Linked DNA regions of Homo sapiens: region 1 is linked to region 2. The links are contacts of gene promoters, found by promoter capture Hi-C in blood cells and fetal thymus (Javierre and others, 2016). All regions are on one chromosome and are shown on one strand. Each heading gives the region's core, a stretch centred on a gene start or on the middle of the fragment in contact. The rest is flanking DNA. Distances are from core to core; before and after follow the strand shown. Region 1 holds the start of DELEC1 (deleted in esophageal cancer 1). Region 2 holds the start of AMBP (alpha-1-microglobulin/bikunin precursor).

Region 1 (2,700 bases), core at 165-2,664, 1.1 Mb after region 2:
TTATTTACTTTTCATTTTTTGGTTGTAAGCACTGAGAAACCTATTCACAAAAATAAGTAGATGGGAAAAGAAAAACTTTTCTTATAGCAGTGTTATAACTTCTTACCAGGTTGTATGCCAAAAATCACATAAAGATCAATCATCAAATAGGATTTTTAATACTTTCTCAGGTGACATTTTAATTAGGTTCCCCTTCAGTTTTGTTGTAACTAAAGCATTGAAAGTCATCTGACTTGCAGAATGATTTGCTGCAAGGTCATTAGTCATTCACTTTCTCAACACTTTTTCTCGAAAGAATTTTGAGTTGTACCTTTGTTTGGTCCCCCAGAAATTTTTATACCCCAAAGCAACTCGAGATGAGTGAGAGGTATGAATTCCATTTGTAAAGTGAGAGAAAAGCATTTACGAAAAAGGGACTCTCTTCAGATTCCTGAGAAAGAGTGCAAATGAAAGCTGAGAATCTGAAAATTTCCTTATCTCTGCCAACTAGAGCCCATGGAAAATCTTTGAGTAACTCTGGGGGTACTATGCATCACAGTCTGAAAATTATTATATGGGATGTACTTTCTATACTTAAATTAAATTTCCCCATGGAGGCAGCATTGTTATACAGGTGACAATGAGATAACAATGCAAAGAAACCAGAAGTCAAGTTCATATCGACTTATATAGCTCTGTCTCCATAAGTCAGAAACAGGAAAAATTAACTTGTTCTTCAGCAATCTAGGTTGACTTCATGAACGAGCTGGCGTTCAAATGAATCCTTGAATTGTGGAAACAGAATGTTAAATCTGGAATGAACTTCAGATATCATCTAGTATGGAGAGGACAATTAAATGTTGACTTTTACATCAATTTGGATTAAATATTTGTGATTGCTTACAATTCTGTGTCAAGAAGTAGTCAGAGGAATCATCTGAGATCTGTAGGAAAGCATGTTGTGATTGATTAGCTATGCCTGTCAGAGGAAGCAGGGAGAGAGGGGCACAGGTGATCTGCTCTTGCCCCCCTAGGTACATAGTCCTTATCACATGAACCACAGGGAAAACTGAGGCTGACTGAGAGCAGGAAGCTTGACCAAAACTCCACAGTGAATTATTGCCAGGATGGGTAGAATTACATATGTTTTATTCAACATTTGGTGGTCATTGTAAATTTGGTAACATTTGCAACTGGAAAATTTGGGGATGTTTTAGAGCTGGAAGGGAGCAAATTCTTAATTGAGCAATACACGCTGTCCTTTCTTTCAGGCTCCTTCACATTTGATCTCTGTGCAATTTGATAAGAGGAGGGAATGGGCCGTCAATTATGAAGAGACTGAAAACCTGAAAATACTGAGTATGGTCTTAGTTCCCTCTCCAAAGGGAGCTCAGGAAAAATGCCAAGCCATACAAGCCACTGATTACTCATCTAGCTATTGTTTCTACCTCACCCTGGCCCAGGAAGACAGATCTACTGAGGAAAGGTAATAGAGGCTGGCAAGGTTCCTACTTTTACATCTATCTGTAATATCCACTCATTCTTAGCATCTTGCACATCCACAGGGCCGTACAGGAGTCTTCTTGCCTTGTATTATTGAATCTTGGGATAGGGGTAGGAACAGACAGAGGTATTAGCAGAGATCCAACAGGATGTAAAACATACATGTTGATGCAGGGGTTAACTTTATGTATAATAAATAGATTTTTACCATGCATACCAAACTGAATATTCCTTCCTCCTTTTTCTCTCAGACCTCTTTCTATGTGTGGCTCATTCTTTTACTCTACAACATAATGTTCAGTTGATTCTGGACTTTTTCTGTGACAAACAATGCTGTAATAAACATCCTCCTTGTGCATTCATCTGGGTGCACTTCTGAGAATTTATCTGAAGGATAAATTCCTAGAAGTAGACTGTCTGTAACATAGGGTCTATGCACTTTCAATTTCCATAGATTCTGCCAAATGGTTTTCTTAAGAGGTTATACCAATTTACACTCTCAGCTATGGTATATGGTAACCCCTGCTTTCCCACAACCTGCCAACACTGGGTATTTACAAACATAAATAAATGGAGGGTTTGAATAATTGTAGTTTTGAATTAGACTTGGGGCGTCCCTCTCATCTGCCCCAACTTGTGTCTCCCCAAAGCAACCTAACTAGGGGATGGCTAATGCCATAGACTCTGAGGCTTACTCAGAGCAGAGGCTGAATGCTCCTGCTTCAGTGGGAACAGGGGGTGTTTCTTCAGTCTGTGCCCTACTTGGCATCTGTCCCTGACAGACCCAGCCAGTGTGGGGAGCCAGCCTCTCTAACCATAAGAAAGAATGGATTGGAAACAAATTGATCTTTTCACAGCTGGCTGTTCCCCTCTTTCCCCTCAACTTGGACTCAGCTCAGAACAAGGTTGCCGATGTTCTGCTGCAACAAAGATGGCATTATTGAGGACTGCCTCTTTGGGGGGAAATGTCCTTCTCCAAGAATCGCCTCTGTAGTTTCAACTATGACAAGCCTGGAGACCGAGCATAGCTGTGCATCTCCAAGGGTCTCCAAAGCGACACCCAACTCTATCCGTCCTGTTGATGACCATGTACTCTTCTATTGGTGTCCACAACTTTATTTAAATGATGTCAGATGACTCAATTCAACAGAATCTAACCCTTTATTCATCCTCCCTGGAGACCTGTGGTCAGTGGGCAGGAGAGTTTGGGATTCAAAA
Region 2 (2,700 bases), core at 79-2,578:
TGTGCGGCTGGGGTCCCAACCTGCCCTGCAGAAGGGCTAACTCTCTCAAGATGTGGGATCTGTCCATAGCTCCATCAACCACTGCTCCCCAAGAGCTGGAGTCCTGTCTTTTACTCCTCCAATGATGGGGTGCTCCCCACCTTGCAAGGCAGCCCACAGCCCCATGTTAGGAATTATTTCAAAAGTATAATGAACATGATGGGGTCATTCAGGATAGGCCTGCTTCCTCTTCCTCCTGAAAGTGCACGGGACAGCTGAAGGAGCCCTCAGGCTCCTACGGAACAGGCCAATGTGCCCCACACCCTTTGCGTCCCAGACTGCCACAGGGACCTGCTCCTCATTGCCCCTCTGCCACGACCTTTCCTTGTCCCTAAAAGTAAACAAAACCCACATGACACCACAGCTAGAAGGTTCTGAGACCCTTCATACAGACATGGAGACAGCCCCAGGTGGGCAAGGGTATTCTCAAAGCCACCCCGGGATTTAGGGCAGAGTGGGGGCTGGAAGGCAGCTCTGGCACTCCACACTCACAGGAGAGTGTCCTGCCCCAGTCCAGGTCTCTCCTTGTGCCCAAGCCTCTGAATGTCTCCCAACCCTAATCTCTGTCCTGCTTCACCTCTTCCCATAAGCCCCACATGCCCAACCCAAAAGCTGCTGGCCACATGCCCACGCTGTGCCACCCCAGGTGTCTGTCCACAGTCAGGCCAGGATGTGGGCAGGGGACACAGGAAGAGCTAAGGGAAAGATGCCACAGAGAGAGGGGAGTCATTAGAGAAGGAAGGGCTGGGAGGTCTGGGCAAAGCTAGGTGTCTGCACGGGGGCTGCAGGGCAGTGGCAGGCAGGACAAAGCCTTCTCTGGAGCAGGTTCCCATTAACACAAGGGTTCCCCTTGGAGCCCACGAGGACAGTGCAGAAGGTGAGGATGTTTGACTCATAGAATGTCAGCCAAGAGACCCACGGAATGGCAGGGGATAGAGCTGTACCTTCAAAGGATCCCATAATCCCAGATGATCTGAGTGGAAGCCTGAGACCCCGAGACAGGCCGCACTTGCCCAGCAGGGCCCATCTGCCTGGACTCCCCATCACCACATCCACCCTACCACAGAGAGCGGCAGCCTTACCCGAGAGATATTGAAGTTTTCCTGCACTTGGATGTTGTCGGGCGGCGTTGGCACAGGGCCAGCGCTCACCGCCAGGCAGGCGCTCAGCAGCAAGAGCAGGGCCCCGAGGCTCCTCATGGCTATGGGCTCCTCTGCCTTGGTATATCCCACAGGCTCGGTCTAGCAACAGAAGGGCCACCGCCTCCCTGCAACAGGGCAGCTGTGAACTGAGGCTGGGGAAGGGGCCTGTGGCTTGTAGTTGACCTCAGTGTTTGCCCTGCTCAGCTGGGGCCAATTACAGCCCCAAGGACAGCTCCAATCGATCCCTGTAGCCTGGCTGGGGTCAGCAGTACCAAGAGGCCGGGATGGCTGCTTCAGAAGAGGCATTGGCCAAGCACAATAGGGCCCTGGAGCACCAGGATTGGGCTCCGCCCCCCAAAAGTCCCCCACAGAGGGCATGCGAGGATGGGGAGCGACCTGGCCTTTCTGCTGAGTCATGCCATCTGGACCTCACAGCTCTGTGAGCCAGCAGGTCAAGCCTGATTGGGCCCATTTCTCACAGGAAAAAACTGAGGCCCAAGGAGAGGAAGTGACTTGCCAGAGACCTCAGGGAAGTCTATGGGCAGAGCCAAGACCAGAACCCAGGTATCCTGTCTCCAGAGTTCCTTCTCCAGCCCCCAGGCTTGCCCTAGCCTTTGCAAATAATAGAGACATTAACAATGATGACTGTTACGAGCTTCCGTTCACTGAGCACCTGCTATGTGCTGGCTGTGTACCAGGCACTTTACACGTGCCACAGGTGTCCAGTAAATCCCCACAACAAGCTTACGAAGTAGGTGCTATTTGTCCCCTTTACAGGCAGAGGAGTTGAGTCTCCAAGAAGTGAAGTGACTTGCCCAGAATCCCTCAGCCGGGAGTGGAGTAGCTGGGAAAGGCGTGGTAGAGACCATGGACGTGGGAGCCAGGCAGCCTACAGTGGCACTCACTGCTGTGTGACCTTGGGCAAGTCACTTTACCTTTCAGTGCCTTGGTTTCCTCATCTGTAAATGGGGATAATAATAGTTCCTAGCTCCTAGCATTGTTGAGTGAGCACCTGCAATGCGCTAGGACAGTACCCAGCATAGAGTAAGAGCTGAGTGTTTGTGGTGGGTTGAACAGTGCCCCCTCCAGAATCCATGTGCACCCCGAACCGCAGAATGAACCTGATTTGCAGATGTGATTAGTTAGATGAGGTTGAACTGGATGACAGGGGTTTTAAATCCAATGACCGGTATCTTTATAAGAGAATGGTGAGGGAGACTCAGACACAGGGACACAGAGAGAAGCACGGGGAAGATGTGGCGTGACGCCGAAGGCAGAGATGGGAGGGATGCAGTGACACGTCAAAAATCACCAAGGATTGATGGCAGCCACCAAAAGCTAGCAAAAGGCAAGGAAGGACTTTTCCCCAGAATCTTCAAAGGGAACATGGCTCTGCTGAAAATTTGGTCTCAGGTGTCTGACCTCCAGTGCTGAGAGAAGACACATTTCCTAGCAGCCCTAGGAAACTAATACAGTAGTTATTAAACTTAAGGTTTTATTTATTTATTTATTATTTTGA

What was found. Contacts are between HindIII fragments. The CHiCAGO score rates a contact against its expected background, and 5 or more counts as called.
Region 1: the fragment with the promoter of DELEC1 here is called in contact with the fragment with the promoter of AMBP in region 2 in 4 of 17 cell types (activated CD4 T cells, non-activated CD4 T cells, naive CD8 T cells and 1 more); the score reaches 9.1 in activated CD4 T cells.

Annotation. Positions count from the first base shown.
Region 1 is chr9:115,140,404-115,143,103 of GRCh38, forward strand. It overlaps DELEC1 (deleted in esophageal cancer 1), which reads left to right and starts at 1,415. Exons shown (of 8, transcript NR_163556.2): 1 at 1,415-1,465. The HindIII fragment of the contact is 2,096 bases long and covers 1,071-2,700 here.
Region 2 is chr9:114,076,972-114,079,671 of GRCh38, forward strand. It overlaps AMBP (alpha-1-microglobulin/bikunin precursor), which reads right to left and starts at 1,329. Exons shown (of 10, transcript NM_001633.4): 1 at 1,122-1,329. The coding sequence starts at 1,238. The HindIII fragment of the contact is 5,279 bases long and covers 1-1,922 here.